Regions from separate parts of the Homo sapiens genome. Here regions 2, 3, 4 and 5 are each linked to region 1. The links are contacts of gene promoters, found by promoter capture Hi-C in blood cells and fetal thymus (Javierre and others, 2016). All regions are on one chromosome and are shown on one strand. The core of a region is centred on a gene start or on the middle of the fragment in contact, and the rest is flanking DNA. Distances in the headings are between cores, read along the strand shown.

The links. The method cuts DNA at HindIII sites, captures the fragments that hold promoters and counts their contacts. A CHiCAGO score of 5 or more calls a contact.
Region 2: a fragment that was not itself captured here is called in contact with the fragment with the promoter of LINC01181 in region 1 in 2 of 17 cell types (megakaryocytes and endothelial precursors); the score reaches 8.6 in megakaryocytes.
Region 3: a contact is called between a fragment that was not itself captured here and the fragment with the promoter of LINC01181 in region 1, in 3 of 17 cell types (megakaryocytes, naive B cells and total B cells). The highest score is 6.4, in megakaryocytes.
Region 4: a fragment that was not itself captured here is called in contact with the fragment with the promoter of LINC01181 in region 1 in 1 of 17 cell types (erythroblasts); the score reaches 5.4 in erythroblasts.
Region 5: a contact is called between a fragment that was not itself captured here and the fragment with the promoter of LINC01181 in region 1, in 1 of 17 cell types (megakaryocytes). The highest score is 6.0, in megakaryocytes.

The regions. Positions count from the first base shown.
Region 1 is chr8:103,119,411-103,124,513 of GRCh38, forward strand. It overlaps LINC01181 (long intergenic non-protein coding RNA 1181), which reads left to right and starts at 1,622. Exons shown (of 6, transcript NR_145429.1): 1 at 1,622-1,803. RefSeq lists an enhancer at 2,659-3,160. The HindIII fragment of the contact is 1,509 bases long and covers 273-1,781 here.
Region 2 is chr8:103,268,755-103,273,554 of GRCh38, forward strand. All of the region lies in intron 1 of LOC105369147 (a long non-coding RNA gene), which reads right to left. Among named protein-coding and RNA genes, the nearest start is that of FZD6, 28 kb to the right of the region's middle. The HindIII fragment of the contact is 6,521 bases long and covers 4-4,800 here.
Region 3 is chr8:103,334,253-103,339,282 of GRCh38, forward strand. No RefSeq gene overlaps it. Among named protein-coding and RNA genes, the nearest start is that of SNORD173, 28 kb to the left of the region's middle. The HindIII fragment of the contact is 608 bases long and covers 2,549-3,156 here.
Region 4 is chr8:103,354,637-103,359,294 of GRCh38, forward strand. No RefSeq gene overlaps it. Among named protein-coding and RNA genes, the nearest start is that of CTHRC1, 15 kb to the right of the region's middle. The HindIII fragment of the contact is 7,742 bases long and covers 1-4,658 here.
Region 5 is chr8:103,313,252-103,318,439 of GRCh38, forward strand. The region is part of intron 2 of FZD6 (frizzled class receptor 6); the gene reads left to right. Among named protein-coding and RNA genes, the nearest start is that of SNORD173, 6.9 kb to the left of the region's middle. The HindIII fragment of the contact is 3,824 bases long and covers 1,787-5,188 here.

The DNA.
Region 1 (5,103 bases), core at 372-2,871:
GCCGAGATCATGCCATTGCACTCCAGCCCGGGTGACAGTGCAGGATTCTGTCAAAAAAAAAAAAAAGAGAAGTTATGGAAAACTGTGATGCTGCAGTGAAATGAAATCAGGCTGCTATGTGTCAGGCTGCGATGTGGGGCCCTGTGTCCTGAGTCACACACCAAAACAGGAAATCCCCTATTCTCATCTTGAAAAATTTATTAGTAAAATAAAGTAAATAAGACCAAGAAAAATAAGGCTGCTATTATTTGAATCATTTAGTGAAAAAGAAAAGCTTTCTAGAACCAACAGAACATGGTAATGAACACTCTGCCCCCATACTTATCAGTCTGTATTGGCATTTTCTGTGTAACATACCTTTCTTTCCTACTAGAAACAGTTTCTCTAGTTCAGGATCTATGTCTTATTTATCAACTCCCAAAACTGTCCCTTCTTTGAATTCCTTTGATACTTAATACCCAAGTCACTCATTTGGCATTTATGTTACCTTGTATGGTCTATTGTATTTCTATTCTGTTTATACATAGTGACTCTTGAACTAGACTATAAACTCCTTCGAGGTAGAAGTCTTGCTTTGAACATTTTGTGTCCCCATTTGTTATTTGTTGAAAACAAGGCATGCCAAGGAAGGTGCTAAGGGCTGGATATGGGATAAGAGACCCTGGTCTACCTTTGGGGATTCACAATCTGGGGAATTTCCTCAGGCAGGGCACAAAACCTATGAGACAATCCTGCTTTCCTGCTGAACTTGGACCTGGGACAGGGTGGGGATGGGTGAGGCTGGAGCTGCTGCAGCAGCGTGCCTCCAATGCCTATAAATTTCCTGTTGGCTCTCATCCGTCTGGGCTGAATTTTCTATCAACCAATAGAAAATACAGACAGGTATTATGAAAGAGGGTGTTAGGAAATCCCATGCAATTATTATACATGTCACAAATGTGTGGGTGCATATGCACCTGTGAGTGTGTGACAGACAGAGAGGGAGGAAGAGCACTAGGAGGAAATGCCATCTGAACTGAATCTTGAAAGACAAACGGGAGTTAACGAAAGATGTTCCTGAGAGAGTGGCAGGTCTGTGCTTGCATCCTGATGTCAGAGTCAGATAAACTCCAGAAGCCTCAGGGCCTCTGCACTCTATCCCAGTGCTTCCCCAAACTCCTGTTGAGGGCAGACTCTTTTAGAATATGTTAACGAATGGATGTGCAGAAGAAAACTATCTTCTGAGAACAAAATTGCTCTAGTTTCTGCATTGCTGGTTTTCTCTGAACCTTTAATATGCTGATAGGCACTCAACAACAGAATCCTTTGTTGGCAGAGCACAAATTACCCTCTGTCTGTTGAACAGTTTCAGAAAGTTTATGAAGCACTTTTCAATGAGGTGTGGAGTAATAAATGATTCAGCAACACTTAAGTCCTGCCACCCTAGGCCTAACTGGTTACACTGTCATGAAAATTTACAAATTACATGGTACCAAAGACAATATAAACACAATCTATTGGGTAAACAATTGCATGATGGATTACTGTAGACTTATCAATAGTTATGGCATAATTCAGTCTTTATTTTTGCATATGAAAGGCTCTCACGCAAGCATTTTTCTGTAGCTCATTGGAATACAGTACAGATGGCCTGGATCAGTGCAATGTGCAACAAGAGGACTATATCGTCTCAGTAAAAACCTTGAAGAGATGAACCCATTTCAGAGACCCAGCAAGGGATCACCTGCATATACAGGCATCAGCAGAAACAGGAATTTGGGATTTATCCTGGAGGTAGTGGAAGCTTTTGGAGGTCTTAACCAGGTGAATGCAATGATTGGGTATATTTTAGAAAGCTCATTCACAGGGAGAGAGGACTTGAAGCGGGGTTGTTACTAGAGACAAAGAAACTAGTTAGGAAGTTATTTCAGGTAATGAGGGAGACATAATTTAGGGGCTAAACCAAGGAAGTGACAATAGGAATGGAGAGAAGGCACAGCTTGCGAAGCATTTAGGTGGTAGAACTGATTGACTCAGCTCTGAGGCAGCTGTGGGGGTGAGAAGCTGGGGTGGGTGAGGGTGGGAAGAGGGTGGGGAGGGTTGGAGGAGTCAAGAATGAACCATGACTTCTGGTTCGTGCAACAGAGTGAAGAGCTGAGGCCCCATGGTTTCCAGGCAGCCTGTGCCAGTGAGAGAAATGCAGAATAGAGTTTGATTTGAACTCTGGCTCTGTCAACGACTTGGTACTATGGCCTTGTGCAAGCAAGTTAACGTCTCCAAGCCTTACTTTTATCTTTTGTAAAATGGGACGATGATACCCCGCTCTTGCATGTGTGAAATAACTAACACATAGTCTGTGCTTCAGAAGTGAAGTCACTGCTACTCAGAGAACACAGAAGGAGAAGCAGTTTACAGAGAAAGATGAGTTTCATTTCAGAAACACTGCACTTGAGGTGGCTTGGACAGCCATGTGGAGGTGTCCAGTAAGGCATTAGATATATAGGTATGGAACTCAGGAGAAAGATCTGGGCTGGAGAGAGTTCTAGGGGCCACTGACTTTTTGATATTAGGCCAAGGCAAGGAGGTAAATGAGAACAACCAGAGAGAGTGTGGAGAGGGAGAGAAATGCAGGCCCTAACGGACGGCCTTGGGAGCATCACCATTCAACAGCTGAGGAAAGGAAGCAGAGCCGGCAAGGGAGATGTTCTGGAGCCTGCAGGGCTGTGCAGTCAGAAGGAGGCGCAAACCAGAATCTGAAGACGCAGGTTTGAGTCTCAGCTCCCTTGCTGACTAGCTGTGTGATCCTCGCAATTCAGGTAACCTCTGTAAGCTTGTCTTCTCATTCGTCAAATGGGAATGCTGCTGATAATGTCTACTTCCTGGAGACTTTGGTGAGCTAAGGTGTATAATTTTTTTTTTTAAGCTAGAGAGCCTTATAAGTGGTTCCATGTGGTCATTTTTTCCCCCTAGACTGAATCGGCTTACATCTAAAAGCAAGGTCACTTTAAGAGGGTCTCTGTGACTCTGGCCTTGCTTGCTCAGCAGGAATTCCAGCCTGCTCAAATTCCTCTAGGCAGCTCTGGGATCCCTGGGCAGGAGGTACAGTACCTGATGCCTGAGTGCCCCAAACCCCTTCCGAGGAAACGGGGCCTTAAGCACAGGCCCTCACGTTGTCCCACTTGACTTCACCACCCTGGCTACACCTGGTGGGAATTGGGATGGGCCCTGTTCCCAGGGGAGCTGACCAGCTGACCAGCCGACCAGCCAGCAGCTCCCCACGTCTGCCCGGGGTGAGACAGGAGAATACGGTCTGGAGGCAGGGAACATAAGACTGATTCATGCTGACTTCCTAGAACTAAATCAAATGGAAATACTTCAGCTATTACAGGAAATATCCTCACCATTGACACAAGGCGTAAACCCAGTAAATGTCTTTGTAACTTTACTTGATCCTCTTCATTTACACAGGGCGTACACCAAGTAACCAATGGAAACCTCTAGAGGGTATTTAAACCCCAGAAAATTCTGTAACAGGGCTCTTGAGCCCCTATGCTCGGGGCCACTCCCACCTCATTTTCAATAAATCTCTGCTTTTGTTGCTTCATTCTTTCCTTCCTTTGTTTGTAACTTTGTCCAGTTCTTTGTTCAAGACCCCAAGAACCTGGACACCCTCCACTGGTAGCAAGGGGGCCATGTGATAGAGATCCTGCCCCTCTCCTGTATGGACATTTGGACTCAGCAAGCGAGGCCAGAGTCACAGAGACCCTCTTAAAATGACCTTGCTTTTAGATGCAGGCTGATTAGTTGCCAAAGCCCAGCAACTGGCAGGATGGGAGACATGGTGACAGTGTCTGGGTGGCTCATGGAGCCCCTCACAGCCATGGGTGGTGGCAGGAAATGGGCAGAGGTGCCTGGTGCCCAGGGTGGGGCTACTCTCCACCTGCCTTTGTCAGGCTGCTTCCCAGTTTCTTTTTTTTGGTCTGTGTTCTTGTGTGTCTCACAATGCACTCCATTTGTTAAAGTAACTTGAGAACGTGGCCATGTCTTGTGGCTTAGAGGAGGCTAATTGTCACGGGAGACTCTCACGATCTCTCAGGAGGGAGTGGAGTTTTCTCAGAATAAAGAGCATCAGCTACAGTGAAGAATGGAAATGGGGCTAATGTCTATTGACTGGGGACTGGTGAGCAAGATCATGGCACCTCCGCACACGATGAAATCCTGCAGCTGGAAAACAGAACAAGGAAGCTCTTTGTGTACTGATAAGGAGTGATCTGCAAGATATTTTCCTAGGTGAAAAATGTGAGCTTCAGAATGGTGTAGCAAAATGAAACTCAGAAAATATCTCTAGAATATTACACCTCATCTAATGACGCTGGTTGCCTATGAGGAGGGAAGCTGGGGGCCTGGGGGCAGTGATAGGAGAAGAAATTTTCACTAAGCATTGTGTAATAATTTTCCTAAATCTTGAATCATGAAATTCAGTCACCTCTTTAAACAATCAAATCAGAAAAACATCTATTAAGAACATGACCTATAAAGTTGAGCAAGTCCTATGCTTGGGCTTGCCCCCACAATTTATTGCTGGGTAAAGTTGAGCAAGTTACTCAACCTCTCTGAACTCATTTTGCTCATCTGTAACATAATCACAGGCTTGCCTCCACAATTTATTGCTGGGTAAAGTTGAGCAAGTTACTCAACCTCTCTGAAGTCATTTTGCTCATCTGTAACATAATCACAGGAATAATACCTGCCTGATAGGGCTGATTGGTTATTGTTGTTGTTTTGTTTTCTTTCTTTCTTTTTTTCATTTTTTTTTTTTTTTTGAGACGGAGTCTCACTCTGTTGCCCAGGCTGGAGTGCAGTGGCACAATCTTGGCTCACTGCAGACTCCGCCTCTCGGGTTCAAGCGATTCTGTTGCCTCAGCCTCCAGAGTAGCTGGGACTACAGGCGTGTGCCACCGCGCCCAGCTGATTTTTGTATTTTTTAGTAGAGACGGGGTTTCACCGTGTTGGCCAGGCTGGTCTTGAACTCCAGACCTCAAGTAATCCGCCTGCCTCAGCCTCCCAAAGTGCTCAGATTACAGCTGTGTGCCACCACACTTGGCTGTTGTTACTGGTTTTCAC
Region 2 (4,800 bases), core at 2,014-4,513, 150 kb after region 1:
TTAAGCTTCCGACAGCTCTGAATTTGGAACCATGCTCTGTAACTATTAGCTGGCCTTGGCAGAATACTAAACTCTTTAGCCTCAGTTTCCTAATAAATAAAATGAACATAATAATTGTTTATTTCAGAAGGTTGTCTTAAGAATCGACAAAGAGCATTTAGCACAGAGCTGGGCACATAAGAACTCCATACCTACTAGATATTTAATCATATTAAGGCATGTAACACAGTATCTAGCACATGGGCTTACTAAATAGCAGTGGTGGTGGTAATTATTGTTGTTGTTACTTTTATTGGCCTAGAATTGTTCCTAGGCCTCCTAAAATGCTATTATTTTCTAGGAAAGGAGGTCTTTTCAGTACTGTTGTTAAGACTCCTTTCATTGGTTTTGACTTCTAACTTCAACACAGCCCTACTTGCAAGGAGTCTATAGAAACTATCAGCTGAGTCAGGACCATTTCCTGAGCCTTTCCCAACACCTCTGCTATTTAGAGGTCAGATGTCAGCTGCAACTCAAGAAAAAGATGCCCATATTAGGAGAACTCTCAGATCCCCATGGAGCTACATTGCCCAGCACCATCTGTGTTGGTTTCATGCTGTTAACACTCATCAATTCCCAATTGACAGCAGCACTGGTTCTATTCCAGTAATTGTGACAAAGAACATAATACTCAGAAACTCCAGGGGCAAAGAGATGTATGTGTTCACTTAGTGTGGATAAGGGATTTTTGCTCTCTAAACTACCAGAGATCTAATAAACATTCCTTGAACCTGTGATACAGTGTCCTATATCCAACTGTCTCACAATCTCTTACTTTTGTTAAAACAGCTTTACTAAAATATAATTCACATACCATATAATTCACCCATTTAATTGTTTTAGTAGAAACACAAGGCTGTGCAACCATCATCACAATCTAATTTTAGAACATTTTTGTCTCCCCTGAAAGAAACCCAGTGTCCATCAGCAGTAATCTCCATTCCCCTGTTAGGCCCTCTCTAGCCCCACACAAATGCTAATATATTTTCTGTCATTATACATTTTCTTATTCTGAACATTTTATATAAATGGCCACATATAAAATGTGGTCTTTTGGCTCCTTTCACCTAGCATAATGTTTTCAAGGCCCATCTATGTTGCAGCGTGTGTTAGAACTTCATGCCTTTTTATGGCCAGATAATATTCCATTGTATGAGTATTCTACATGTTATTTATCCATTCACCAGTTGATGAAAATTTGGGTTGTTCCTACTTTTTTTGGCCGTTCTGAATAATGCTGCTCTGAACATTTGAGTACAACTTTTTGTGTAGACATAGGTTTTTAATTTCTCTTGGATAAAATTTCTGGGTCATTTGATAACCTTAATTTTTTAAAGAATTGCCAAATTGTTATAGAAAGCAATTGCTACATTTTACATTCCTACCAGCAAAAATGAGCATCCCAGTGATATAATTTGGCTCTGTGTTCCCACCCAAATCTCATGCTGAATTGTACTCCAGTGTTGGAGGAGGGGTCTGGTGGGAGGTGACTGAATCATGGTTGGGGGATTTCCCCTGTGCTGTTCTCATGATAGTGAGTTCTCACAGAATCTTGTTGTTCAAAAGTGTGTAGCACCTCCCCACTTTGCTCTCTTCCCCTTCCTCTAAACATGTAGGACATGTCTGCTTCACCTTCACCTTCTGCTATATTCTAAGTTTCCTGAGGCCTCCCCAGCCATGCTTCCTGTACAACCTGTGGAACCATGAGCCAATTAAACCTCTATAAATTATCCTATTACAAGAAGTTCTTTTTAGCATTGTGAAAATGGACTAATATAGAAAATTGGCAACAGAGAGGTGAGTCATTGTTATACATATACCTGAAAATGCAAAAGCAATTTTGGAACTGGGTAACAGGCAGAGGTTGGAACAGTTTGGAGGGGTCAGAAGAAGAAAGGAAGATGAAGTAAAGTTTGGAGCTTCCTAGAGACTTGTTAAATTGTGACCAAAATGCTGACAGTGAAATGGACAATAAAGTCCAGGCTGAAGTTGTCTCAGATGGAGATGAGGAACTTATTAGGAATGGAGCAAAGGTCACCTTTGCTATGCTTTAGCAAAGAGACTGGTGGCATTGTGCCCATGCTCTAGGGATCTTTGGAACTTTGAACTTGAGAGTGATGATTTAGGGTATATGGCAGAAGAAATTTTTAAGCAGCAAAGTATTCAAGAAGTGACCTGGCTGCTTCTAATATGGTCGTATGCATGAGCAAAGAGATGATCTACAACTGGAACTTGTATTTTAAAGGGAAGCAGAGCATAAAAGTTTACAAAATTTGCAGCCTGACCATGTGATAGAAAAGAAAAATCCATTTTCTGGGGAGGAATTCAATCCAGCTGCAGAAATCTGCATAAGTAAAGAGGAGCCAAATGTTAACAGCCAAGATAATGGGGAAAAGAACTGGAAGGCATTTCAGACCTTCACAGCAGCCTCCCTGCCACACAGGCCCAGAGGCCTAGGAGGGAAGAGTAGTTTCAGAAGTCAGGCCTGAGGCCCTGCTGCCCTGTGCAACCTCAGGACATTTCTCCCTACGTCCCAGACAGTTCAGATCCAGCCTTGGCTTAAAGGGCCCCAGATACATCTCAGGCCACACTGCTCCAGAGGGTGCAAGTCATAAACCTTGGTGGCTTCCATGTGGTATTAAGCCTGCAGGTGTGCAGAGGACAAGAGTTGAGGCTTGGGAGCCTTCATCTGGATTTCAGAAGCTATATAGAAACATCTGGATGTCCAGGCAGAAGTCTGCTGTGGGGGTGGAGCCCTCATGGATAACCTCTTCTAGGGAAGTGTGGAGGGGAAATGTGGGGTTGGAGTTCCCACACAGAGTCCCCACTGGGGCACTGCTCCTCTGTGAGGAGAAGGCCACAATCCTCCAGACCCCAGAATGGTAGATCCACTGACAACCTGCATCATGTGTCTGGAAAAGCCACAGACACTCAACACCAGTCCATGAAAGCAGCCCTGGGGACTGTACCCCACAGTGGCACAGGGGTGGAGGTGCCCAAGGCCTTGAGAGCCCACCCCTTGCATCAGTGTGGCCTGGCTGTGAGACATGAAGTCAAAGGAGATTATTTTGGAGCTTTGAGATTTAATGACTGCCCTACTGGATTTCAACTTGCATGGGCCTGGTAGCCCCTTTGTTTTAGCCAATTTTTCTCCCTTTTGGAATGGGAGCATTTTCCCAATGTCTGTACCCCCCATTGTATCTTGGAGGTAACTAACTTGTTTTGATTTTACAGGCTCATAGGCAAAAGGGACTTGCCTAATCTCAGATGAGACTCTGGACTTAGGCTTTTGAGTTAATGCTGGAATGAGTTAAGACTCTGGGGGACTGTTGAGAAGACATGATTGTGTTTTGAAATGTGAGAAGAACATGAGATTTGGGAGGGGCTGGGGGCAGAAAGATATGATTTAGCTCTGTGTCCCCACCCAAATCGCATGTCAAATTGTAATCTCCAGTGTTGGAGGAGGGGCCTGGTGGGAGGTGACTGGATCATTGGGGCGGATTTCCTCTTTGCTGTTCTCACGATAGTGAGTGAGATCTAATGAGATCTGGTTGTTTAAAAGTATCTAGCACCTCCCCATTCACTCTCTTCCTCCTGCTCCAGCCATGTAGGGCATGTCTGTTTCCCCTTCACCTTCTGCCATGACTGTAAGTTTCCTGAGCCCTCTCCAGCAATGCTTCCTGTACAGCCTGTGAAACCATGAGCCAACTAAACCTCTTTTCTTTATAAATTACCTTGTCTCTGTAGTTCTTTACAGCAGTATGAGAACAAGCTAGTATACACATTTTCTCCACATCCTCACCAACATTTGTTATTGTCTTTTTTTTCTCATAACCATACTAGCATGTGTGAAGTGGAATTTTGTTTTAGTTTTTATTTCCATTTTCCCAATGATGTTGAGCATCTTTTCATGTGTTTATTGGCCATTTATATATCTTCTTGGGAGAAATTACTATTTAAGTACTTTCCTCATTTTTTACCAGGTTATTTGTTTTATTGTTGAGTTGTAAGAGTTTTCCATATGTTCTTGATACAATAACCTTATTAGACACGTGATTTCCAGATTTCTCCCATTCTGTCAGTTATTTTTCATTGTCTTCATACTTTCTTTGAAGCACAAAAGGCTTTAATTTTTCGGTAGTCCAATTTATTTATTTTTCTTTGGTTTCTTGTGCTTTAGGTGCAATATCTAAGAAACCACTGCCTAACCCAAGTTCATAAAGATTTACTCCTATACTTTCTTCTAAGAGTTTTATAGCTTTAGCTTTTACATTTAGGTCTTTGATGCATTTTGAGTTAATTTTCGTGTATGATGTGAATAAAGGTCTACATCCATTCTTCTGCATGTGGATATCCTTTGCAGAAAAGACTATTCTTTCACCTATTGATGTCAAAACTAAACTAACCAGGGATTTATGAGTTTATTTCTGGACTCTCCATTCTATTCCATTGATCTATATGTCTATCCTTATGCCTATAACACACAATCTTGATTACTTGAAGTTTGTGGTAAGTTTTGGAATCAGGAGTGTGAGTACTCCAAATTTGTTCTTTTCATGTCATTATTGTTTTGGCTATTCTAGATATCTTTCATTTCCATATGAATTTTAGGATCAGGTTTTCCATGAGGTGTATACCATAAGTTTCCATATATTATGTTTTGTTTTCATTCATCTTGAATATTTTCTAATTTTCCTTGTGATTTTTTTCTTCAAACCATGGTTAATAACATGTTGTTTAATTTTTACATATTTGCCAGTT
Region 3 (5,030 bases), core at 1,603-4,102, 220 kb after region 1:
ACATTAGATAAAAACTAAGGAAATTTGAATAAAGCTTAGTCATCCAAATCAGCTAAATGTTCTTTATAATTTTCTTCCTTCTGCTTGCTTTTTCTCACCTTTTAGTCAGATATTGGACTCCTGGATGGATCCTTTAATTTTCTCATCTTTCCTCTCCTTTTGCCAATCTCTTTGGATTTTTTTCTTTGAAACTTTATCAAATGTATTTTTTAATTTTTGATTGAAGTTTTTTTGGCTATCATTTTTTAATTTCACAGCATTTTAAAAATTTTGTTCTTTTTTCATAGTACCTTTTTGTTTTATGATTATTTTATATATAATGTATTTCAAGATACACAATTTACTTTTTAAAGATCATATAGGAAACATTAATTTGTAATATTTATTTTGTAGCAGATGACTTTATTAAAGTCCCTCAATCCCTCTAATAATTTTGCAGTTGATTTTTCCTGGATTTTCTAGGTGGATGATTTTTTCCTCTCAAATAATGGTAATTTTATTCCTCAGCTATTAGCTGGAACTTGTAGCCAGTTAACATTAATAGTAGTAGCAGTAGACATCCTCGTCTTGTTTCTTTATTTTAAAGAAAATGCCTGTAGTACTTCATCATGAAGAACAATGTTGGCATTTGACATAAGATAGGTATTTCTTAATGAGTTAAAAGAATCCTATTCCATCTTATAAGTTTTTAAAAATGAGGAATATGTACTGAATTTTATCAAATGCCCTTTTGCTACCAGGATTAGTCAGTATGAGGCTAACTTCTGTAACAATCCTCAAAATCGCAGTAGCTTTAGAAACTTATTCATGCGACAGGTGTGAATGTTCTTGAGGTAGCCTTCCAAATTCAAGCAACCACCACTTCCATCTTGTGGCTCTGCCATCTCCCACTGAGTAAGAGAGAGAGTAAATGACTGCACAGAAAAAAGCTTCATGAGCTAGAGTTGAAAGTGATATGCAGGCCGGGCGCAGTGGCTCACGCCTGAAATCCCAGCACTTTGGGAGGCGGAGGCGGGCGGATCACGAGGTCAGGAGATCGAGATCATCCTGGCTAACACGGTGAAACCCCGTCTCTACTAAAAATACAAAAAATTAGCCGGGCGTGGTGGCGGGCGCCTGTAGTCCCAGCTACTCAGGAGGCTGAGGCAGGAGAATGGCGTGAACCTGGGAGGCGGAGCTTGCAGTGAGCCAAGATCGCGCCACTGCACTCCAGCGTGGGCGACTGAGCAAGACTCCGTCTCAAAAAAAAGAAAAGAAAAGAAAGCGCCATGCAACATTTCCAGCTGCATTTCATTTACCAGAACTCAGGCATAAATCTAGATGTCTTCCTGAGAGGGAGGAGAAACAGATTTACTAAGCCATTGGCCAGCATTTCAATCTACTAATGTGTTGTGTTAAATAAATTTCCTAACATAATGCCATCCTTTAATTCATTGAATAACCCTACTTGATCATGATGTATCATTTAATACTTCTGGATTTGATTTGTTAGTGATTTATTTAGGAGTTTTAAAATGTGCATCTATATGTACCTATATTCTAAATTATTTACCAGCCCTGGGCAATATTACAATATTTGTAATAAGTAAGTTTGAATTTTAAAACTATTTATTTTTAATAGCAAAATTCAGAAGCATTATTTAATTTTTTTAAAAAGCAATTTTTCTTTTTCATGGGACTAGAGTCTTTGAGGCAAAAAAAAAAAAAAAAAAAAAAAGCCTGCTGTCGACCAGCCTGACCAACATGGTGAAACCCTGTCTCTACTAAAAATACAAAAATTAGCTGGGCGTCGTGGTGGGCACCTGTAATCCCTGCTACTCAGGAGGCTGAGGCAGGAGAATTGCCTGAACCCAGAAGGCAGAGATTGCAGTGAGCCAAGATTGTGCCATTGCACTCCAGCCTGGGTGACACAGCGAGACTCCGTCTCAAAAAAAAAAAAAAGCCTGCTGTCTCAGAAAAGGTGACATTAATTTTTATAAGAATTACATAACAGTTTTCAGCCAAGAAAGTTGGCTTAAATTACATATTTACATTTACAATAACGAAATTGGCACGAGCACTGTGCAGGTAAACCCAAAGCAGCAAAGTCTGCTAGAAACCCTCACTTTGAAAGTCTGCTACAAACCTTCAACAAAATTTTATGAAATGCCATGTTTCAAAAAGACCCAGGATACCCAATGGGATCCACCACTGCTATGCTGTTTATGGTTCTGAAGAAATCTTCCCTACACTTTCTTGATCAAACTAGACTGAAAACAGATCATAATTGCCAGCCATCATCAAAATCACAGTTTTAGTGCTTTCTTACTTTTTTTTTTTTTTTTTAGTGCTTTCTTACTCTTTGATCTTCTCAGAAACTTACCACAGGTGGGTGTTTCCAGTTCCTACTGCTGGAAAGTTTTAACCTTGCCAAGCAGGCAGTTACTCTCAGGAAATGAAAGATACAATTTGTAATAACCACAAGAAGTTCTGCAGTTGCTTTTCTGCATGGAAGGCATGATATTGAATACCTCACTGCCCACTGCACAAGTCAGATACTTAAATTCCAAGCTTTAACCGTGGCCCCTGTGATCTGTCATGTGCAGAAGAATCAAAACTTTCATTAACTTACAGTGAAAATGTGTCGACAAAGAGCAAGAAAAAATTAAAAGATTAATCCAAAATGATCAAAGACATTGGGATCCAGAGCCAGGCGGTAGTGGAGAGAAGCATAGTGAAGTTCGTTATGAATATTACTGAAGGATGGGAGCCAAATGGAAGCAGTATGGAAAGAAATACAATGAAATGAAAATGAGAAAGACTTGTGGCAGTAAATACTAATTAGAAATAAACACAGATGGAAAATTATTGCTAAGGTGAGTAAATTTAGCAGCCAATTCTGAGATTTGTATTTTCTATCCCTAGAAGGAAAAAAGAGCCAGAGAAAACGTTGAAGTGCAGGTTTTCTAATTTTCCACCACAAAAAGAAAAAGGACATGAAGGAGGACAAACCTAGTTAAGTCTTGGTAGAAACGTCTTAGAGAAAGTTTTCAAATAAATTATTTTCTAAACACATGCCATAGTTCATCTTCATTAATACTGAACACACTTTAAGTATTTTCTACTATTTCACTTAGATTAGGTTTTAACAAACATACCTAGTGTAGAGTCTATTAAAGCTTACATTTAATACTTATGTTTATATACTATTAATTATAAGTATAATTATAATACATTTAGAATATGTTGAAAAGAGAGGCACAAAATCAATAGAGATTAAGAAAAAATTTTTTTCTAAAGTTTCAAGAAAATGAAATATCTGAATATCTTCTTTCCCAAGTGCTAACTAGAGTAAAACTGTCTAGTTTGTGGGTTTATTTCCTTAGGGACCTATTCCAGGATCTAATTAGTTTCACTGTGAGGAAATAAGTCTGAATATACATACTACACATTATCTAGAGAAACTCACCAGCAAGGTAAGAGCTTCCCTCATGGTTTTAGTCCTTCCTAACTGTCAGCCCAGTGTCCCCTCATGAGAATTCTCATAAAACAGAAACCTCCAGACTTGTAAACAAAGTTGACCACTGGCAAAACACTTGCTGGCATTTCCAGCCTCTTAACTGCCACCTCTATTAGTGCAGGCTCCATGTGAAAAAGAATGACACTCTGTGTTTCTGGAGCTGACCTTGTTGGCAGGCTGTGGGCAAATAAAAGGATGCAGTAAAACAAAACAGGAGGGCTGTGTTTCCTCAACTGACAGGCATCACTGCCTCCTTGTCATGCATCCTCAGGCTCTGGGGAGGCCTTTCCAGGCTTACCACATGGACAGTGAGCAATCCAAAGGTGTTCTTTTACGAAAGCAAAGACCATGAACGTGGCATACAACACAACCAAGAGTTGGGGGAGGGCGCCTCGGGGGCACTGTAGACAAGGCAGAATCTGGCTACCTGGACAGTCCGAAGAGATCAAACATAATATAAAAACACAGCCTTCACTCAACAAGAGTACGAGTGACAGGGGAGACTGCATTCACCCTTGCAAGGGGGACGAACATCTAAAGAATTAGCAGGTAATCCATATGAAATCTAACTGCACGGACATGGAAGATTCTTGTATTAGTCTGCTCTCACGCTGCTCATAAAGACATACCCAAGATTGGGTAACTTATAAAGAAAAGAGGTTTAACTGACTCACAGTTCCACATGGCTGGGGAGGCCTTACAATCATGGCAGAAGGCGAAGGGGAAGTAAAACACATTTTACATGGCAGCAGGCAAGAGGGCACGTGCAGGGGAACTCTCACCATCAAATCTCATGAGATTTATTCACCATAACAAGAAAAACCTGCCCCCATGATTCAGTTACCTCCCAGTGTGTCCCTCCCATGACATGTAGGGATTATTACAATTCAAGGTGAGATTTGGGTGGGGACATAGAGCCAAACCATATCAATTCCCAAAATATTTTTAAGCACAAAAAAACTTGCAAAATTACACTTACACAATAATACCATGTATATAAACTACATCCACCCCACAAAACCACACTAATATTTTCTATTATTACTTATAAATGTATCTACATGCATAATGATACCATGTGTGTTAACAACCTTCACCCCATAGAATAATACTATATGTTTTCTATGGTTACATGTATATAAATGCATAGGGGAAGTCCAGGAAAATATAGAAACATGGGTTATCTCTGTGGAGGGGGTCAGTATTGTAAGTGATGAACAAAGCAGACTTTAGCCTGATCTGTAATGTTTACATTTTTATAAGGAGACTCTATTAATATATCATATGTCATCATTAAGAATCTGCTTATTTATTTATTTACTTATTTATTTTGAAACAGAGTCTTGCTTTGTCACCTAGGCTGGAGTGCAGTGGCGCAACATTTTCTCAGTGCAACATCCACCTCCTGGGTTCAACTGATTCTCCTGCCTCAGCCTCCTGAGTAGCTGTGATTACAGGTGCCTGCCACCACACCCAGCTAATTTTTGTATTTTTAATAGAGACAGGTGTTCACCATGTTGGCCAGGCTGGT
Region 4 (4,658 bases), core at 591-3,090, 240 kb after region 1:
TACATCTGTCAGTGCACTTATTTATTATAGTGGTTATAATGCCACTAAGATTGCCTTGGTTTTCAGTAGCCATATCAGCCCAGCCTTGATAATTGTAAATATGGAGCAGTATAATCATAATTAAGCCAGGCCAGGCGCGGTGGTACACACCTGTAATCTGAGCAGTTTGGGAGGCTAAGGCCAGCAGATCACCTGAGATCAGGAGTTTGAGACCAGCCTGGCTAACACGGTGAAACCCCATCTCTACTTAACAAATACAAAAAATTAGCTGGGCATGGTGGTGTGCGCCTGTAGTCCCAGCTATTCGGAAGGCTGAGGCATAAGAATCACTTGAACCAAGAGGCAGAGGTTGCAGTGAGCTGAGATCATGCTCCTGTACTCCAGCCTGGGCGACAGACTGAGACTCTGTCTCAAAAATGAAAAAAAAAGATAATTAGAGTAGAAATGCAGGATTTTGTCTTTGTCTATGTGCATGAATATGGGGTGGCAAGGCAGGGTGACTGGGAGGTAGCCCAGGAATGTTATATTCCAGCCATAAACTTGAAATGTTGTCAGACACTTAATATAGGGTTACCAAGATGCAGAGATTCCTGGAGACATATTAAGCAGATGCTGAGGATATACCCCGGCTCTTAGAAGAATTCTACCTGAAAGAAAAGGTAGAAAGGAGTAAGGCAAGGGTGCAAATTTCCTGTGATACCCAAGGGAGCAATCACCTTAACAATTAAGGCCCATGCCAAGCACTCCAGTTATCTGATGAAGAAATTTTACCATGAAACCATGAAGGGGTAGAGCCCCACGTCATCCCGTCTTACCCCTAGCATGACAGTCACATACAACTGGTGGTAGCATCTAACCTGGTGCATTTAAACCCCAAAAGAAAATTTGTATATAGCTGGGATTAGTAGATGTGTATATCTGTTTAATGGATACATGAGAATTTTTATTATCTCTCATTTTTCAATTTCCAGTGATTTTCTTCTGTATAAGAATTCATTGGTTTTCACTTAGCTAGTGAGTAATTCAATATCTGCATGCTTCCCCCTCCCCATTATACCCTCATCTATTCAGCTGATATTTTTCTTGCTTTGGAGCATGCAGCTAGAGCATTATATTGCTATCTCTTCTAGCTTTGGGTCATCTATAAATTTTGAAGCATGCTTTTCTATACAGTCCATAAATTAAGGGATCAACAGTGTCCACAAAAATAGGAATCATTGGCCAGTTGCCATGGCTCTTGCCTGTAATCTCAGCACTTTGGGAGACTGAGGCGGGCAGATCACTTGAGCCCAGGAGCTCAAGACCAGCCTAGGCAACATGGTGAAATCCCATCTCTACCAAAAAAAAAATTACAGAATTTAACCAGCATGGTGGTATGTGCCTGTGGTTCCAGGTACTTGGGTGGCTGAGGTGGGAGGATTGCTTGAGCCCAGATGGAGAAGGTTGCAGTGAGTCGTTATTGCACCTCTGCACTCCGGCCTGGGCAACAGAGTGAGACCCTATCTCAAAAAAAAAAAAAAAAAAAAAAAAGTAGGAATCATTAACTAGCCAAGAGTTAGAAGGAAAAGGTGACAGGAGGATGTTTCTGATAACTCTGATAATACTACCATAGCATCTGATAATATTGCCAATGGATTATTTTCAAATCACAGTAAAGAACATGGGAAGGGAGTTTGCCTAGACTTAATTTTAATTTTCTACACAGTGGTTAGCAAGTCTTCACAACCAGTAATCTCTTTGCCATATTGACAATGAATTATTCCATTATCTCTTGTTTTGTTCTTTGAATAGTTACCAATTTCTTGTTTCGTATGTGTATTAGTCCATTCTCACACTGCTATAAATACCTGAAACTGGGTAATTTATAAAGAAAAAAAGGCTTAATTGGCTCACGGTTCCACAGACTGTACAGGAAGTATGTATGGCTGGGGAGGCCTGAGGAAACTTCCAATCATGGCGGAAGGGGAAGCAGGCATGTCCTACATGGCCGGAGCAGGAGGAAGAGAGTAAAGGAGGAAAAGCTACACACTTGTATTAAACAACCAGATCTCTTGAGAACTCACTCACTATCACCAGAACAGCAACAGGACAATCAGACCCCATGATCCAATCACCTCCCACCAGGACCCTCCTCCAGAATTCGGGGTTACAATTCAACATGAGGTTTGGGTGGGGGCACAAATCCAAACCATATCGGTATCCAAACCTCTTAATCTTTCTATCTCCTGTCACCCATCAATTGCATTTTTTCACTTTTTAGCATTATCTATCGGCTAGTTTAGGGAAAGGTAAAACTATATTCAGCTTGCTTTGCCATTTACTAAAATCCCTGTGATGTGAGGGAGGAGATTAAAATTATTGGCTTATTTGAATTTCCACTACAATAACATGACTTTATACCAACAATGCAATCGCATCTCTAACAGAGGAGCTGGAGAAGAAAAACGAGAAATCATAGTGCAGCTGATGGAGATGGAGATTTGTGGAGGGAGACTGGAGAACTGGACATATTTTTTAAACCTAAGTGTTTTGAGATGCCGTTTCAAAACTCCTGCTTACTTTGGCTTCCTTTTATCAAAAACAGGTGGTTCTTTGTACTTTGAAAGAGACACACAGGCTGCAAAGAGTCATCTGAACTGCTGAGAAATGTCTTTAATCGTGGCCATTTTCAAACACAGATCTGCACAGTGAACAATTTTCTGAGGAATTCTTACAAAGCAGAGTCTGTTCAGAGGATGCTGATTAAAAAAACCTCTGTACACAGAGCATAATGAAGAGGGGAAGAAAGTGCATGGCTTTGTGTAACTTAATAAAAAGGGAGAAAATTTGACCGGAAATGAAAGACTACCCACGTTGAAAGCATATAGTATGCTATGATTCAGAATAAATGAAATAGAATTCTTCCAGGTCTAAGAAATCAGCACTTCCCCCCAGGCACTGCAGAGAGTGTTAGCTTCCAGTTGTATAAATATGCAGAAATAACAAAGGATGCATGTAGAATGTACTTATCATAATGGCAGGCCAGGGACTTTCAGTTATCTTGCACCAGTAACTTAGGGTCTATGATTTTCCAACAACTTGTATTCTCTTAGAACAACAAAAATTCCAATCACTCATAAACTGGTAAGGATGGTGTATATTTAATGTCTATCAGTACAGAGTGTGGGTAGGTTGACCATTTAATACCAATCCAAACAGCCTTGTAATCTAGGTGTTTAGGAATGTGGGTGAAGATGCCACACTGTTGGATTTTATGGCTATTTGTGTGCATGTGAACATGAGCCAGTGAAGGGAGAAATTCAGTAACCTCCTTCTGGGACGTATTGGTGCTGTTTGCCTTCAGATCCATTCTTTGAGCTTCCCTGGCTCTGCTCCAACCTCTGCAGGCTATTTCCAAGGCTCCTGTTTCATAGGCCTTCAGTTGGGCATAGCCAATCAAAGATTGGATGATAGAAATAAGAGAGAAGCCAAAATATTCCTCATCTGCCTTCTCTGCCACAGGTGGCTTTTCTGGCAGTGGCTTCATCTTTTTCACAAGCCCAACATGATTCCAACTTTGACTGGACACCTTAAGTCTCTCCATCTTAGGGGTGGTAGCAGTTTACAAGCTACTGCCAATTTGGGATGGAGGTGCCTAACTGCGCTCTGTTTAGCTTGTAGTCTGTGTGGATGATCCATTTCTCACATTAAATTAACTCTTCTAAAATAATCAGAGTTGTTTGTTTCCCAGATGGACACTGAATGATAAAACTGATGTATAGTTAGGTGTTTTCCACTGAATCATGACTTCCTTTAATCTAGATGGAATCCCCTAATTATCTAACTAAAGTAACAATAGCTAATATGTCTTGAGCACTTTTTTTGTTTTGTTTTTTTTTTTTGTTTTGAGATGGAGTCTTGCTCTGTCGCCCAGGCTGGAGTGTGGTAGTGTGATCTCGGCTCACTGCAACCTCCACCTCCCGGGTTCAAGCAATTATCCTGCCTCAGCCTCCTGAGTAGCTGGGATTACAGGTGCATGTCACCACACCTGGCTAATTTTTGTATTTTTAGTAGAGACAGGGTTTTGCCTTGTTGGCCAGGCTGGTCTTGAACTCCTGACCTCATGATCCACCCACCTCGGCCTCCCAAAGTGCTGGGATTACAGGCGTGAGCCACCGTGCCTGGCCTCCCAGTTGGTCTTCACATAATAATTGTATGAAGAAGGTACTAACACTATCCTCATTTGAGGAATTTGAAATTCAATTAGATTTTAGGTAACTTGTCCAAGATCATGCTCATTAAGTAGCTGAGTCAGAATTCAACCATCGTTTGTATAACCAAGGTCCAGTGTTCTCACTTTTAATCACTGTATTATGTTGCCTTTGAACATATTGTACTTATAAAAAATGTAGCTAGGCTGGGTACGGTGGCTCACACCTGTTGGGAGGCCAAGGCAGGAGAATCACTTAAGGCCAGGAGTTTGAGACCAGCCTGGTCAACATAGCCAGACCTTGTCTCTATAAAAACAAAAAATAAAAATTAGCCAGGTGTGGTGGTGTGTACCTGTCATCCTAGCTACTTGGGAGGCTGAGGTGGGATAGGATTGCTAGAGCCCAGGAGATTGAGGCTGCAGTAAGCTATGATCATACACTGCACTCCAGCTTGGGCAACAGAGAAAG
Region 5 (5,188 bases), core at 2,449-4,948, 200 kb after region 1:
AAGCTCTGATTTATTATCAGTAGCCATAGAATTGGTAAAAGTAGCATTCGATCAGGAATAAAGATACCTAACTTCTAATTCAGAGTACATTTTGGAATGTGAGTAACAATTTTAATAAGAAATTGGCTTCAGTTTTCTCACTTGATCCAAGGGCTTAGATTAGGTCAGTGGTTTTCCAATTGTGATCTCTGGAGGTGCTCTGAGGTCACTGGTAGCAAAGGGGAATGGTGAGAAGTATCTCAGCAGGGAGAGCTTCCTTTTCAGCCCAAGAAACTATGCCTTTATTTATTTAGTATATCGGCCTCCTTTTAACTTCTTATTTAAAGAAAATGTTTCTTGGCAAAGTGTGCATGTGTGCACACACAGACACACATACACTTCGAAAATAATTAACTTAAAGGTTTTCTCTCAAGTCCCTTCCAAGTCTAAAATTCTTTAAGTCTATTCATCTGCAACTGAACTTGGAAGTTGGTAGCCCACACTGGATCTGACCTGAGACTTGATTTTTCTGTGTGTGTGTGTGTGTGTGTGTGTGTGTGTGTGTGTGTGTGTCAGGGAAGGGGGGGGCCCTGTTTCAAATGTATAGATTAAAGTGCCAAAATCTAAAATTTGGGAAATTACACATAACAATCTAGGTTCTGTTTTCTTAGGAAAAATGGATATACCTGACAATTCTATGCCCCCATTTCCAAATAATAGTCTGCTGGAGTTGAGTAGCAGCAGCTTCCCAAATACTCCCTATCATCTTACAGGCATTTTCATTTACCTGCCTGGCCTCTGAAGGTATCTGAGTTTTCAGCATTCAGTTTATCCTCTACACAGTGCAGGAACATCAACATTATTGGATTAGCCAACTTTGGCACTGTAAAAGAATTAAATTAGGGAAGTGACTTGTGTTTTCCATGTAAGAAAATTGTTTTTGTATAGCAAAAGTACATGTATTGCATTCATTTTGCCTGCCCTTGAACTATATAATTACTTCTTAAGTGCTGACCACCAGTTAATCATGGCTTCTGAGTTAGAAGAATTAAATAAACATAGTGTGTTTTAATTCTTTCCACCAAAGGATCTGATTACCACATAGTCAAAAAATTTAGGAACTAGGCTTTTTTGGGACAGTAAACAAAGAGTTTACCACAGTTTACTAGTTGCCCGCAGCTCCCCTTCTCCTACCTCAGGCTCAGAGGAGGATTTGCACACTGTCTGGGCACTCTCTCCCCTTCACGATGGAGGAAACTGAGAAAAGTACTGTGCTGTTTGCACTCCAAGTTCCTGTGAGGTGACAAAGGATCCAATCTCAGAGCATCATTCAAATAAAAGCAATAATATATGTCAACCATGGCAACCCTGTCTCTGCTCAGTCACTTGCCCCATCAGGACAGGGGAACTTCCCACTGGTCCAACATCCTTCATAGCTATTGTCCTCTAATTGTTGGGTGTGGGTTCTGTATATGCCCTTTAAGTCAGACTTGTTAATTGTAGTCTGTAATCAAGGCTTATATTTACCTATTAATTTTTGTCTGCTTGACCGTTCATTTACTAAAGCAGATATATTGAAATTTCTCATGACCATGGAAGTGTCCATTTCTCCTTATAGTTTTATTGCTTTTTGTTTATATGTTTTAAGGCTATTTTTAAGGTGTATACAGTGCTCAGCAATGCATTTCAAAGTATATGTGTTGCACTTTATCCAGAACCTGAATGTTTTGTGGCAGGAGATATTTAGTTGGCCATACTGATGAAAGAAGTTGTCATTCCTTCTTTTTATCTTTCAAAAATTTCCCAAAGCTTATAGGGAGCCCTTTCTTTATTTTTTTAATGCAGTTATGGATTTGTTTTTTACCTTTAAACCTTTTCTTTCATTTCAATGGCATTTCGAGTGGAAGGAGATGCTAATATATAGAGTCAGTGTATTTCCCTTGAATCAGAATTTTCATCTTCTCTCACTCTACTTATTCTCCTTAGGTAATTTCAGCCAGTTATTTCAATTACCACTTTTATACTGATGACTTGTAAATCCATATCCTTAATTTAAAGTCTCACTTCTACGTAGCTTTATTTAACTGCCTGCTAGTAGATATTTCACACTCAAATGTGCACTTCAGACTGTCCATCAACTGGTAAATGGTTAAGAAAATTATGGTACAGCCATACAGTGGAATATTACTCAGCAATTAAAAGGAATGAACTACTGATGCATCAGACAACATGACTGAATCACAAAACAATGATGCTAAGTGAAAGAAGCCAGACAAAAAAGAAAACACACTATATGATTCCACTTACGTAAAATTATAGAAAATACCACTCCGCAGTGACAGAAGGCAGATCAGTTGTTGTCAGGCGTGAGAGTTACTGAGGGGGTGAGGAGGATGGAAGAGCAGGAGGGATGACAAGGGAGCCAGAGGAAACTTCTGGTGGTGAGGGATACATTTATTACCTTGATTGTGATAATCATTTCAAAACTTATCAAATTGTACACTTTATACATGTTCAGTTTATCATACATCAGCTATACCTGAATAAAGCTGGAAAAGAAAACCCTCAATACTAAAAGGCTTTGAACAGAAAAATAACAGTCCTTGCCCACCCTTTTCCACCCATATCCCAGTCCTGCCCTTGAGAGGCAGCCTCTTTGAACTGTTTTAGGTGTTCCTCTGGTATGCAGGCCACATTCTAACTAACAGGTTTACTCTGTTGGTTATAGATTAATCAGTTTAGCACTTTAGGCCGTTTCTGTTTATTCTTTCCTATTAGGGTAATTGATAATTCATTTCTCTTACCCTGCCACTTTTACTTCTCCTCCTGATACAGTTTTTGATTAAATGAATAGTCAGTGATAATATTACTAGAAATATTAAATATTGTACACTGCTGAGTCAGGTAGTATACTTTGATTACATTTATTTTTTTAATACCCTCCCAACAATTAACACAGTAGTTGTATTTTCATTTGTTTTTTATGTAACAATGTCTGACTATTTTTAGATATCCTAACAGACTTGTCATACACCTAGCAGCAATTTTCCTAGTGCTCAAAATAACATATACTCTGTCAATCTCAATCCCCGCTCCTTTCCCTTGGAGACCTTTCTTCTTCAGCCATCTGCCCTTCTGTCAAATGTGTTCTGATTACTTCTGGACTAGATTTGTAGTTGTCACATGGAGAATTTCTCTTGTCATTCTTCAGTGTTGAATCAGCTAATTCCTGGGTCCCATATTATTTTCCTTCCTTGTTTATTCATATATTCCTTCAATTTGTTTCAGGAATATTACATCTTCTAGTTGCTTCCTAAACAGGGATACTTGAAAGTTTAAATTTTGTATTCCTTACAGTGCCAAAAATGTCAGTAGTCTACTCTCTAAATGTTTGGGTGGATCTAGAATTCTAGGTTGAAATGCATTTTTCTTTAGAATTTTATAGTCATTTTTTCATTTTCTTCTAGCTTCTGATATTGTCAAATATTCACAGTTTAATTTAGTTACATGTATTCTGTTTTTTTCCCCCCTCTGGAAACATTTATGACCTTCTCTTTGTCTTGATGCTCTGAAATGTTTTATTGATATGCTTTGTCAGTGTTCATTTATTGTTTTGGAGAATCATGCATTTATTCTGTAAATATAGAGAAATGGCCATGTAGCAGACACTGCTTTAGGCACTGGAGATAGAGCAGTGAACAGAATAGACAAAATCCTTTCCCTCTTTGAATTTACACTCTAGTGGTAAAGGCAAAAATTAAATAAACTAGTACATAATGAAATGCCAGATAGTAATAAGGATTTAAGAGAAATGCAAACCATGGTAATGGGAAAGATAAGAGCAGGATAATTTTAGATAGGATGGGCAGGAATGCCTCTTTGAGGTGAATTGAGTGGAGACTCAAATGAGGGCACAAGACTCACTATCTGGGTGAAGAGGTGAGGGGAACAGCAAGTGCAAAGACTCTGAGACAGAAATACACATGGAACTATAAGAAGTAGAAGTCCAGTTTAGTGGCAATGGAGTAAATAAGAGACAAAGTGGTCAGAAATGAAACTGGAGACATAGCGGGGAACACGGAAATTTAAAGGCTCATGGGAATTGGAAAAGACTTTGGAATTTATTTTACTGGAGTCTTTGAACAAGGATAAACTTACGTTTTAAAGAATCGCATTGGTTGGAAAATTGACTGTAAGATTAGCAAGTGTGGGAAGTAGTGAGACCTGTTAGGAGGCCATTTTAGTAGTTGAGGTGAAAGATAATAGTGGCTTAGACTGGGTGGTAATAGTGAGAAATGGTCAGATTTGGAATATACTTTAAAGGGAGAGCCAACAGGATTTGCTGATGGGTTGGAGATGGAGTGAAAGAAGAGAGGAGTAAAGAATAAGTTGTAAGACCAGCCTGGCCAACATGGTGAAACTTCGTCTCTACTAAAAATACAAAAATTAGCCGGGCGTAGTGGCATGCGCCTATAGTCCTAGCTGCTTGGGAGGCTGAGGCAGGAGAATTGCTTGAACCTGGGAGGCAGAGGTTGTGGTGAGCTGAGATTATGCCACTGCACTCCAGCCTGGGCAACAGAGCAAGACTCTGTCTCAAAAAAAAAAAAAAAAGAAAGAAAGAAAGAAAGAAAAAAGAATGAGTTGTAAGATTCTTGGCCTGAGCAACTTGGTAAATGGTGGCATTATTTACTGAGATGGAGAGTACTAAGGGAGTGTTTGGGAGGCAGAGATACGGTGGGATTGAGTTGTATTTTGCATACTTTGGGTTCAAGATGCCCATTAACAGCCAAATGGAGTTGTCCCGGAGCAGATGCTCATTCAAGTCTGTGGTTCACAGTAGACATGGGGACTGGATGAGTTTCCCTTGAGAGTCAGTAGAGATAGAGAAGAGGTCTTGGGGACTGAGCTCTGGAGCATTTCAATGATCATAATTGGGAAATGGAAGAGGACTAGAAAAGGAACAGCCAGTGAGACAGCCAGAAATCCAAGAGAATTCGTGTCCTAGAAGACAAGTGCAAAAGGGGCCTCAAGAGGAAGCTAGGAGTCACTGTGTCGATTGCTGTTAAGAGCTGAGTAGAAGGGATGTTCAGAATTTACCATCAGATTTGACAATGTGGAGTTTGTTGGTGACTCTGGCAAGTGATTTCACTGGAATAATCCATGTCTTCTTGAAAAATATATGATTGAATAAAATAGTAGTATCCCATTG